Linked DNA regions of Homo sapiens: regions 1, 2 and 4 are each linked to region 3. The links are contacts of gene promoters, found by promoter capture Hi-C in blood cells and fetal thymus (Javierre and others, 2016). All regions are on one chromosome and are shown on one strand. The core of a region is centred on a gene start or on the middle of the fragment in contact, and the rest is flanking DNA. Distances in the headings are between cores, read along the strand shown.

Region 1 (2,700 bases), core at 108-2,607, 1.1 Mb after region 3:
AGAGAAAACATTGGGTATGGTTTTCATTGAACATCAAAATCTCATATCTTGTACATATTCTCCCAAACTGTGTTCCCCGTCTTTCTTCTAATGTAATGTTAGCTGAGTTTCTCCACCATTCAAAAGCCTTTTCCTAGAACATCGTGATGAGAGAAATCACAAAGCGGTAGCTCCCAGCCCTGCTAAAAGGAGGAAACGTGCTTGGCATCCAAATGGAAACTGGTTTCTAGTACTTAGGTCAAAAGTTCATGTACACACACACACACACACACACACACACACACAGAGCGTTCTCAAGAGAAGTTCTTAAGGCCAAAAGAAAAAACAGAGAGACTACCAACACATAGATCCTAGAGTGAAAAAATCCAACTGGCAATCTGAACTAATGTAGGCAGTTTCCCCAAAGCGACTGATAACTATTGAGTTACTTTCCCCAGGGTCAGCTGCAGAGAAGGAATTAGAAAGACCAAGTTGGGGCCCTTCTCTACTCCTTTTAAATACCGCGTTTCTGTTGCTTGGAACTTTCATATTTCTGCATCAGACTGTTCTCCTTGCTATATTTCACACTCCCTCTGGCTTCACATCAGAAGAACAAGGTCAGTATTTGTTTGTAATGGAATAGGGGTGTGATGGTGAATAATACAGATGTATATTTTACTTGGAACAAATGCAGTTCACCTTTCTTCTCTGAGTAAACTGAGATCTTGAGAGAGGCTGCACTGCATAAGCCTTCAAAAGGAGGCCCTCCTTGGGTATTCCAAACATTTTATCAAGCCACAAGATCCTCTTGTTTCAAGCAAGAAGCACCTACAAAGAAAAAGACAGTTTCTGTAAGACACTTGGATTTTGGGTTTGTTAGTTCTTTTGGGGTGAATTTTTAATGTTAACAGAAAAACCAAACTACCTTGGTGGAATTGGGTGCCAGGAGGCATTAAATAAATGGATTCAAGTAAGTACATTTGCAATACCCTAGAATGGTACATTCTCTCAGGTCCTTTGCTTTGGGTTTTTCAGAGAGATTCAGAATACGTTTCTACGTTTATTTAAAGTAGAATGTTAAGGCCAAGATGAAGAGAATCAATTCTAATCAGCTTTTGAAGTAGAAACAGGACAGGATCAATCTTGCAGCACTCAACAGACTATCTCCCATTTGGAACTAAAGATGCAGAACATAAAACATTCCATTAGATCCCTATTTTATTTCATTTGTGGCCACATGAGTCTGTCTAATCCTGACCACAGAATCAGAATGTTGAAAAGACTTTGAAGGTTCATCGAATCCACACCCACGCCTATGGGAAGATCTCCCACTAACCCTCCAGACACATGGGGACTTACCCTGTTTCTAAAGACCTCCACGAAGTCCTACAAAAAGTGTTAAAACACCAGCTCTCCTGCCAGTGGTCTGCTGGGATTGTTGAATTTGCGTCGGCCCCACCTCCATTAATCAATCCCACTCCAGCTCCTCAGAATCATCCCCTTTTCTCTACTCTTTAATACTCAACATCTGCCCACAGCTCACATGTGTTGCATTGCCAAGTTCTGGCCCCTAAGCCAGCTGAGGCCTGTTCTAGTCTATTGAAGCCAAGGCACAGGTGTGGCTGTCAGGCAGCCCAAGCCCCTCCTGTTGTTCCCCATGCAACCATTGGCAGTGCTTCAGCTGCTGAGCAGCTAGTGAGAGGAAAGGCAAATTCCTAAACACTCAGGAGTTTTGGAGTGTTTCATTCTTTGCAAGGAAAAAAGATTCATAGATCTTTTATTAGGGAGGCTGCAAGTGATGCTTGATATAAAATATTTGCCTTTTGTTTAACATAGTAAATTGATCATTATTTGGCTACCCCAACTCAAACTTCTGATCAAGCCTCAAAATTTGCAGCACCAACCTCTACCAGAATTCCTACTCTGTTGGCTTAAAATAGCAGAGGAGTAAACTTTTTTCCTTCATTAATATGAAAGAATTTGAAGCATTAGAAATAGCCCTGCACTAAAGAAACAGGTACTAAGAATGATGTTTCCCAGGAAATGCGTGTGGCCAGAAACCTAAGTCAGGAATGAAGAATCCTCAATGAGCATTGGAGAGGACTGTCTACTTTCCTTGACTCTCATATCATTCCTGGCTCCAGACTGGCTCCTGGAAAACGCTTTTTCTCCATTTCCCAGACAATGTCTTGTGCACTCCCCCATTGCCTGAGAGAGACTTAGGGAGGGTTATCTGTAGTACCAATCAAGGCAGCTTGGATGCTCCCCTCCAGCCTTCAGCAGACAGACCCTCCTGGAGATGTGGGAAGGGCCATCACCCCACTGTAAGGAGCTGAGGCCCTGTTGATCAGCTTTTTCAGTTTCAGCAACAGAAGCAGACAGGCCTTGAGCTGTATGGAGTGGAGCCTGCAGTTACTGGTGTGACCATCCACTGCAGTCAGAGGCAAAACCCTGAGAGAAGCCCAAAATCCAGCTGAAGAATGGGAATGCACAGGGTCATACTCCTCAGGTGGTGCCAATTTTCAAAACCCCAGACCCCTCAAATCAAGGACTGTATCCCAGAGAACTGGATAAACCAGCTATGTCCCTACAGATAAAGACACATGCTACCCTTTAACTTCCTGCTGGCTAAATGCTTTCTCTGAAGGCCTCGCCTGAGCTAAAATCAGATTTTCACATTTAGTATAATAATTCTCAAAAGCCCCACCCCCCGATCATAAT
Region 2 (2,700 bases), core at 54-2,553, 1.0 Mb before region 3:
TTTTTTTCTGAGACAGAGTCTTACTCCATCCCCCAGGCTGGAGTGCAGTGGCATGATCTTGGTTCACTGCAACGTCCAGTGCAAGCGATTCTCGTGCCTCAGCCTCCCAAGTAGCTGGGATTACAGGCATGAGCCACCAAGCCCAGCTAATTTTTATAGTTTTTAGTAGAGATAGGGTTTCACCAGGTTGGCCAGGCTAGTCTTGAACTCCTGACCTCAGGTGATCTGCCTGTCTCAGCCTCCCAAAGTGCCAGGATTACAGGCGTGAGCCACTGTGCCCAGCCACATATGTTTTAAATGAATGATGTTTATACTGAAATTAGCAGTTATTAGAATATTTTAGAAATTCGTCACACATAATCATATGACCCCAAGACCAAGCATTACAATGTAACATTTTAAGAAAAAGGACAATTATTTTATATTTTTATTCATTCACCTTTTCTATGCTTTAATAAATCTTTTGCATAGGTAAACACATTTAGTCAGAGCTATAAGACAACATAGAAACAGACAAGAAATACACAGACATTCTGATTCTTCTCCAAATAACTATTTTGAGGAAACTCTTGACTATATGTTACCTTTAGAAATACCTTAACCTCTTCTGCTCATACCTAAAACAATTTGTGTAACCTTCAACTTTCAATAAAATCATTTTATAGTATAATTTATCTTGAATATCTTATACTCCTTAAAGCATTACTTCAAAAACAAAATTCTTCAAATAATTCTATAAATAAGTAGCAAATGTTATTGCACCTTAGCTTTATAATTTAAAATTTTTTCCATTACTTCAAACATTAGTTTCTAAAGTAAATTAATACAGTCTGGGCATATAACTACTCTTTCTCATAGAATGGTATTAGTCATCAAGATATTTTAATCTTATGTAAGGACATTTCTGATACTGGGAACTTAATTATAATACTTTCTCCAAATTCAGGCAAAAGCAAGATGATTATAACACAGTTAGCTCTTCATTACCTGAGTTAATTAAGAGGCCATTCTGGCAGGTAACTCCAGTAGGAACCTAACTTGTTGTCTTAAAGATCCTGAGATCTTTAAGAGGTCAGTTCCTCAGGCAGCCCTTTCTCAAGGATCTTAACTATATACTCTCCTTTCAGACCTTCTCACTGCTCAGGCTGTGCTGAACTGAAGGTGCCAACCTCGGGACAGGGGCCACAGTCCACAAAATCCCTGTAGCAACAGTATGGTAGCTGAAGGATGGGATGTTTGATCAAGGGGGAAAAAAGGTGATTTCAGGTGGGATTTCTGACTCAGGATCAAGGTAATAAGAGCTTTACTCTATGAGATGTAACAATGACAAAAGAATATTAAAATCTAAGGCTGCACAAGGCGCTGTAAACAGCAGTGATCTTTCTCTTAGAACTGTTAGAATTCCGTTGCACAAAAGAACATATATGATCTAGGACTGGAATAAAAATACTTGAGAAGTTATCTTTCTCTAGGCAACAAAGTAGTGTTATTTCTGCTTAGCAAAAGTTCACCTACGCCTAGATTCATTTCTAGCTTTTTTTTTTTGAAAAGTAGATTTTAACAAAATGGTCAACAAAATAATTATGAGTTTTAATGTTGGTTATGTCAATTTATTAGTAATTTTGGTCTTCCCATTAGTGTCCTGTATAAAAATGATGAGTTTCTCCGTAGTACGTACAACAGCTTTTAAAGAGAACGTAGGCAGAATAATTCAGACAGAAACCATAAATAACCAGAAGGCAAAGTGAAGCAAAATTGTCTCATGTGATGTTTATCCCAATTTATATCGATATTCTTCTATCAATTTTTAGACTGTTAAAGTAAAATCTTAATCTAAGTGTCTTATGAATCATTATAAAAGATTCCAACCTTTAAAAATTATGAAAGGTTTAAAGACCTCATTAATAGAGTTAGAAATGTTTGCTATTATCCTACTGGTCAACTTTGGTCTGTATTTTCTGCACCTCTTCAGGCCAAGAATAACAATCAGGTAGAATCTGGTCATAATCAGTACTATACATCTGGGAGCGGACAAATGCTTCTTTGTTTTGCGGTTCAGGATAAACTGTGGCTGTCTTTTCTTGGTATGCATCTTTCACAATCTAGATATAAGAAAAGAATATTAATTATTTTAATAAATAGAGGTAATCATGAGCCCATGTGAGTGGAAGTTTTTATCCATTTCAAAAACACTGTATCCTATGTTTGCAAAAACATTAAGTGTATTATAATAAAAGCACATATAAGCAATGAAGATATAAAATGAAAATGCAATTATAAATCATATAGTGAGAGAGAAAAATGACATCAGCAACTAAGGAAAGTGTGACCAGGTGAGACTGATTCAAGTACTATCACATCTGGATTTCTCAGAGAAGCCAGTGTTCAAAGTCTTGACATGACCTGACTGACAATTAACTTGAAATAAATACCTAAATAGTCCTGCTAAACTTGAACCTTGAATTTTCAAGAATCCCTATTCTCACCACAGCCTCCTACAAAATCTCTTCCTGTACCCCAGGGTCTCCTGATCTTGCTCAGCTAATCATCTAGACACCACAGTCAGGATGAGCACTCTTTGCCAGCGTCACAGATTCTCTGGTCATCACGCCCTGTGTTTCATGCATAATTCTAGTCCCTCGTCTGGGGACCCCTCAGAGCTGGCTTTCTCCTTTTGTGGCTGTGCATCCTAGAACGATG
Region 3 (2,700 bases), core at 159-2,658:
AGAGTTTGGTGATGGACTAACTGTATCTTCGAGATGACAGAATTGAAGGATGAGTCTTTTGAGACAAATTTGACAATATAGCTTTTAAAAATATAAACTTACCTCTTTCATAAACTGTTCAAACTCTTCATCTAGCTCTTCTTGGGAACAGTTAGCCATAGTCAACAATTTTGACCTCCCAAAGTAAACATTCTAAAGTACCTCAAACATTGGAAACACTAAATGACAAGAGACATAAACATCTTTTGAGGAAATCCATCAGATCATGAACACGACCAGACTTAAACTTCGGACATTTGTTATGATTCAGTATATATGCACAATTTTTTTTAACCAGTAAGAGCTGGTCAAGAGATTCCTAATTCATTAAGCAAACTGATTTGGAAAAGCAGCTTTGACAGGATGTCTTGTACTCAACGTTCAGAATTATGTTTTCATCTGTTAACATCCAATTGTTAAAGAGTGGTCTCTACAATATTTCCCAAACCTATGTTTGTGTGCATGTGTTAATTAGTACCTCTCAAACACAAACCAGGTCCTCACAGGGAATCTTAAAAACTGTAAGTTAGCAAATCCAAAGGACTGTTTCTTTCTTGCAAAGCACACGACAGTTTGTGCTGCCTTATCACTCGGCTCGTTATTTTACCAATCCATAGTAATAGTTTCGTAAAGCAGACTGCATAGTTTCGTAAAGCAGACTGTATCCAGATACGGGGATGTTTCAAAATATACACAAATAGAATTTAGTAAGAATTAGTAATTTAGTCAAAATACTTAAAGAATACTTAAAGTTAATGGAGTACACAAATCAGTACTATGTTTCTTTTGAAGCGAGGGAAGACCGACAAAAATTATGTGCTGAACACAAGCAGAATCCAGTGATTTGCAACGGAAAGCGTTCCCCTAGACACCTAATGAACCCAACCTTGGGTCGACCCCCAGCTCCTGAACTCCCTAGAGCAGCTCAAATCCCAGCTTTCTTCTGTAGAGATGGGGGAGGGGAAGAGGGCTTGCAGACCCGGACAATACCCTCCCCATCGTGCAGAGTAACACCTCTTCCCCTCATTTGCACTTTCGATCAGTTCAGGGTAAGTGCGGTTAAGGTCTTGGCCTGAATAGCTTGGTCAGGGGTGAGCTCCACTAAAAGCTTCTCAAGCCTGGCTGCGACCCCGTCCCCAGAAGCGCGGGTTCGGGAATTGGAGGGAAGACAAAGACGCATTTGCCGTGGGCTCCGGGCGGAGAAGGGGAATGACCTGGAAAATTAAAGCCCTTCGCTCGAGTATGAAGCACGGCCTCGACCAGGGCGATTTGGGTGGGAAACCAGCGTTCACACCTTACCACCTACCTCTGCCTCTGAATTCCGCGCTTTCCCGGAAGGTCTGTGCGGGTCCACCAGTTGTCAGGGTAACAGACTTCAGCTGCCGGGTTCTGGAGTCACATGACCCGGGCTGGTCACGTGGGCCGTGGGTTTCCCAATGCCTTTACAAGCGAAGGTCGGAATAACCACGGCTGAGAAAGACACTCTAGTGGCTAAACCTTCGCTGCTGCAGTAAAATGCCTTTCCTTCCCTGGCTTTCTCTACGTTCCTTAGAAAAGGGGACAGCGGCAAACCGGTTACTGGAGAAGCGAGACGGAGGCTTCCAGCAGGCTTGGAGGGCGCGGTGGTTGTAGGCCAGCCCGTGGCTTTCTGGGAAATGTAGTTTAGCTCCCCTGGTCCTTGTGTTTCCGCACTCCGCATCGTCGCCTCCCGCCTTCCCCACACTTGTCATTCGAGCGCTCTGTTTTTCCAAGGGGCAATTTTGAAGAGATTGAATTTCTTGGATTTCTTTGGCCTGCAAAGACCTGTGTAGGCATTGTGAGAGAAACACAAACCTGTGAGGAAAAAAACTGTCGTTTAGATGGGGACTCTGTTCCACCACCTAGTGGGCAAGAAATCGAAAATACGCAAACAGCAAGATTCTTATTAAGTTATTGCTCCTCCCGCTACCCCTACTTTTCAAAACTGCATTCTTTACTGGCATTTCACAATTACTGACTTGGATTTTGTTTTCTATTTCTTTTCTTTTTTTCAAAGCATGCAACATTAGCTGGAGTTTCAGAGGACAACATTTAGCATAGTGTAAGTAAAATCTACAACAGCTGCAGGTTTTGCTGATGGTAGACTTAGTTCAGGACCTCATCTTTAGCTAGAACTGTTTATTCATCAAGTCTTTCTTGCAATACAAATATGTACAAACCAGGAGCTGTGGACTATGATGCAAATATGAATAATAAAAGAAATATCTTAAGCTACCATTTATTGAGAAGTTGACTTCCTGCCACCTTCTATCAAAGACTTACCTTCCCACATATGATCTAGAGCCTTTACCCATTCTTCTTCTCACTGATCTTGTTCCACTGGTCATTTCCCTTAATCCTGTATCTTCGACTTCTGGCTGGCTGTGGGATTTTTCCTAACAGCATTTGAACATGCCTTGAGATCCCCACCTAAAACATCACTTCTGACACATTCTCTTCATGCTATTATTTCCCAGTGGTTGAAATGATCTGTCTCCTCACCTTACTTGCCAATCTTTTCTGAGGAATTATTTCCACTTTACCTCCCTTTTGTCAGACCTTTTAATCCTGTCTCTGTGTGTGTAAGTGTACATATATGACAGCGCTTTATTTGATCTCCCAATACTATTTGATACACTTGTC
Region 4 (2,700 bases), core at 13-2,512, 1.1 Mb before region 3:
CTGGATAAACTGCAGAACAAAATTAGACCCTTATCTCTCACCATATACAAAAATCATCTTGGGTTATAAAAAAAAATAGGACCTGAAACTATGAAACTACTAGGAGAAACAAGAAAAGCTATGTGACATTGATCTGCACCATGATTTTGTATCTATGATCTTAAAAGCACAGGCAACAAAAGCAAAAATAGACAAATGGGGTTATATGAAATTAAAAAGCTTCTGCACAGCAAAGGAAACAATTAGCAGAGTAAAGAGACAACCTACTTACAGGATGGGAGAAAATATCTGCACACCATACATCTGATAAGGGGTTAATATCTAAAATATATAAGGAACTCAATAGCAAGTAAACAACTTGATTTTAAAATATGCAAAAGACCTGAGTAGACATTTCCTAAAGGAAGACATAAATGGCCAACAGGTATATGAAAAAAGGCTCAACGTCACTAATCATCAGGTAACTGCAAATCAAAACTAAAATGAGATATCATCTCACTCCTGTTAGAATTGCTGTTATCAAAAAGACAAAAGGTAAGTGTTAGAGAGGATGTGGAGAAAAGGGAACACACTGTTGGTGGGAATGTAAATTAGTATAGCCATTATGGAAAACAGTAAGGAGGGGCCTCAAAAAATGAAAAAAATAGAACTACCATATGATTCTGTAATCCCACTACTGAGTATATATCCAAAGAAAATGAAATCAGTATGTCAAAGAGAGAAGTGCACATAAACAGCAGTATTCACATAGCCAAGATATGGAATCAGCCTAGGGGTCTATCAGCAGATGAAGGGGCAAAGAAAATATGGTTTATATACATGATGGAATGCTATTCACCTATCAAAAAGCAAAATTCTGTTCTTTGCAATAACATGGATGAACCTAGAGGACACTGTGTTAAGTGAAATAAGCAAAGCACAGAAAGATAAATGCTGCATGATCTCACCCAATATGTAAAACCTAAAAAGTATATCCCATAGAAGTAGAGAATAGAATGGTGCTTACCAGCGGCTGGGGTGGTTTGAGGAAATGACAGGATGGAAGAATGTTAGTCAAAGGATATATAGTTAGGAGGAGTAAGTTCAAGGAATCTGTTGTACAGCATAGTGGCTATGGTTAATGATGATATGTTCTTGAAAAATACAAAGAGTAGTAAGTGTTCTTACCACAAAAATGACAACTATTTGAGGCAATGCATTTGTTAATTAGCTACATTTAACCATTACACAGTGTGTATATACTTCAAAACATTATATTGTACATAATACAATTTTATCTGTCAATTTGAAATAAGCTACATGTCTCTTTTTTAAACCCACTTTTTTTTTTTTTTTGAGACCGAGTTTTGCTCTGTCACCCAGGCTGGAGTGCAGTGGTGCGGTCTCCACTCACTGCACCCTCTGCCTCCTGGGTTCAAGCAATTCTTCTGCCTCAGCCTCCCAAGTAGCTGGGATTACAGGTGCCTGCCACCACGCCCAGCTAATTTTTGTATTTTTATTAGAGATGGGATTTCACCATGTTGGCCAGGCTGGTCTCAAACTCCTGACCTCAGGTGATCCACCCGCCTCAGCCTCCTGAAGTGCTGGGATTACAGGCATGAGCCACCATGCCTGGCCAAAAACCCACTCTTTTATAGATAACAACCAAAAATAAAAACTTCTGTATCAGAATCATGATCATTTTTGCCTTATATTTTAAACACTATCAGTATTGAGTGGTGAACCACTTGGGGTATTTTGAGTTGAGCTTTGGTCCCTGTGCTTCATTCAAGGTCTAGGAAGAATAACATATGTATTTACATTATTATAGTTTTTTTTTAAGTACAATTTCTAAGAAAGAAATCTATATAGCCGGAAAAGTTTTTTGAAAAAAGTTAATGAGAGAGGAGAGGTAGAATATGTCATGCAGGAGAATTAAGACTTGTGGTTTAAAAAAAAAAAAAAAAGTTCAGAAAGATACTGATTAAGGGCCAATTCCAGGAGTCAGTCTGCCAGAGTTCTTCCTGGTTCTTCCTTTTATTCTCTGTGGCACCTTGAACACTAATTGCCTTATATGAACATGGATTCATGTGTATATCTACCTCATGGATGTATTGTGAAGATACATGAGATAATTCACATGAAAGGGCTTAGTATAGTGCCTGGCACAGAGTAATTTGTAAGTCAGTATCAACTGTGATTATTATCATCATCTTGAGTAATACGTGGACAATGTTTATTTGGCTACTATGCTTTGGAGACAGGATGATCCTTTGTAACTCAAGGGTATGTGCTTAAGTGTTTATTATTATGGCTGTTTGCCATTTGAAGCTTAAAGTAGAATCCCACCTACCTGCTAATGGCTCATTCCAAGTTATAAATGGTGCTTATGTTTTGTATTTTCTAAAATTAATATTTTCATATTGCTATGTGTACCAGAAATCACAGAATTTGAAATGAGAAAGAATCTGATTTTATAGCATTCAGAGACAATTTTTAATAACGTATATAATTTTGTGTATATTTACTTGGTAAAAAAAGAAATCGTAAAGTTAAATCAGCTTCACTGTCACCTTGGCAGATCTATGGGCTTTTAAACCTCTTGTGTCTTAGGTTTTTATTCGTATAGCTTTTCTGAGACCTAAAGTGAAAATATAAATAGTCATATGCTGTATAACATTTCAATGATGGCCCACCTATGTAACAGTGGTCCCGTAAGGT

What was found. The method cuts DNA at HindIII sites, captures the fragments that hold promoters and counts their contacts. A CHiCAGO score of 5 or more calls a contact.
Region 1: a contact is called between a fragment that was not itself captured here and the fragment with the promoter of CEP162 in region 3, in 4 of 17 cell types (naive CD8 T cells, endothelial precursors, erythroblasts and 1 more). The highest score is 8.4, in naive CD8 T cells.
Region 2: a fragment that was not itself captured here is called in contact with the fragment with the promoter of CEP162 in region 3 in 6 of 17 cell types (total B cells, naive CD8 T cells, total CD8 T cells and 3 more); the score reaches 8.9 in total B cells.
Region 4: a fragment that was not itself captured here is called in contact with the fragment with the promoter of CEP162 in region 3 in 1 of 17 cell types (total CD4 T cells); the score reaches 6.6 in total CD4 T cells.

The regions. Positions count from the first base shown.
Region 1 is chr6:85,320,526-85,323,225 of GRCh38, forward strand. No RefSeq gene overlaps it. Among named protein-coding and RNA genes, the nearest start is that of LINC02535, 83 kb to the right of the region's middle. The HindIII fragment of the contact is 3,121 bases long and covers 1-2,700 here.
Region 2 is chr6:83,209,993-83,212,692 of GRCh38, forward strand. ME1 (malic enzyme 1) reads right to left here. Exons shown (of 14, transcript NM_002395.6): 14 at 410-2,102. The coding sequence ends at 1,932. Among named protein-coding and RNA genes, the nearest start is that of RWDD2A, 18 kb to the left of the region's middle. The HindIII fragment of the contact is 3,037 bases long and covers 1-2,700 here.
Region 3 is chr6:84,226,235-84,228,934 of GRCh38, forward strand. It overlaps CEP162 (centrosomal protein 162), which reads right to left and starts at 1,409. Exons shown (of 27, transcript NM_014895.4): 1 at 1,346-1,409; 2 at 103-218. The coding sequence starts at 159. RefSeq lists enhancers at 822-1,322, 1,323-1,823, 1,725-1,884. The HindIII fragment of the contact is 5,497 bases long and covers 1,146-2,700 here.
Region 4 is chr6:83,081,491-83,084,190 of GRCh38, forward strand. All of the region lies in intron 1 of DOP1A (DOP1 leucine zipper like protein A), which reads left to right. Among named protein-coding and RNA genes, the nearest start is that of DOP1A, 15 kb to the left of the region's middle. The HindIII fragment of the contact is 2,091 bases long and covers 218-2,308 here.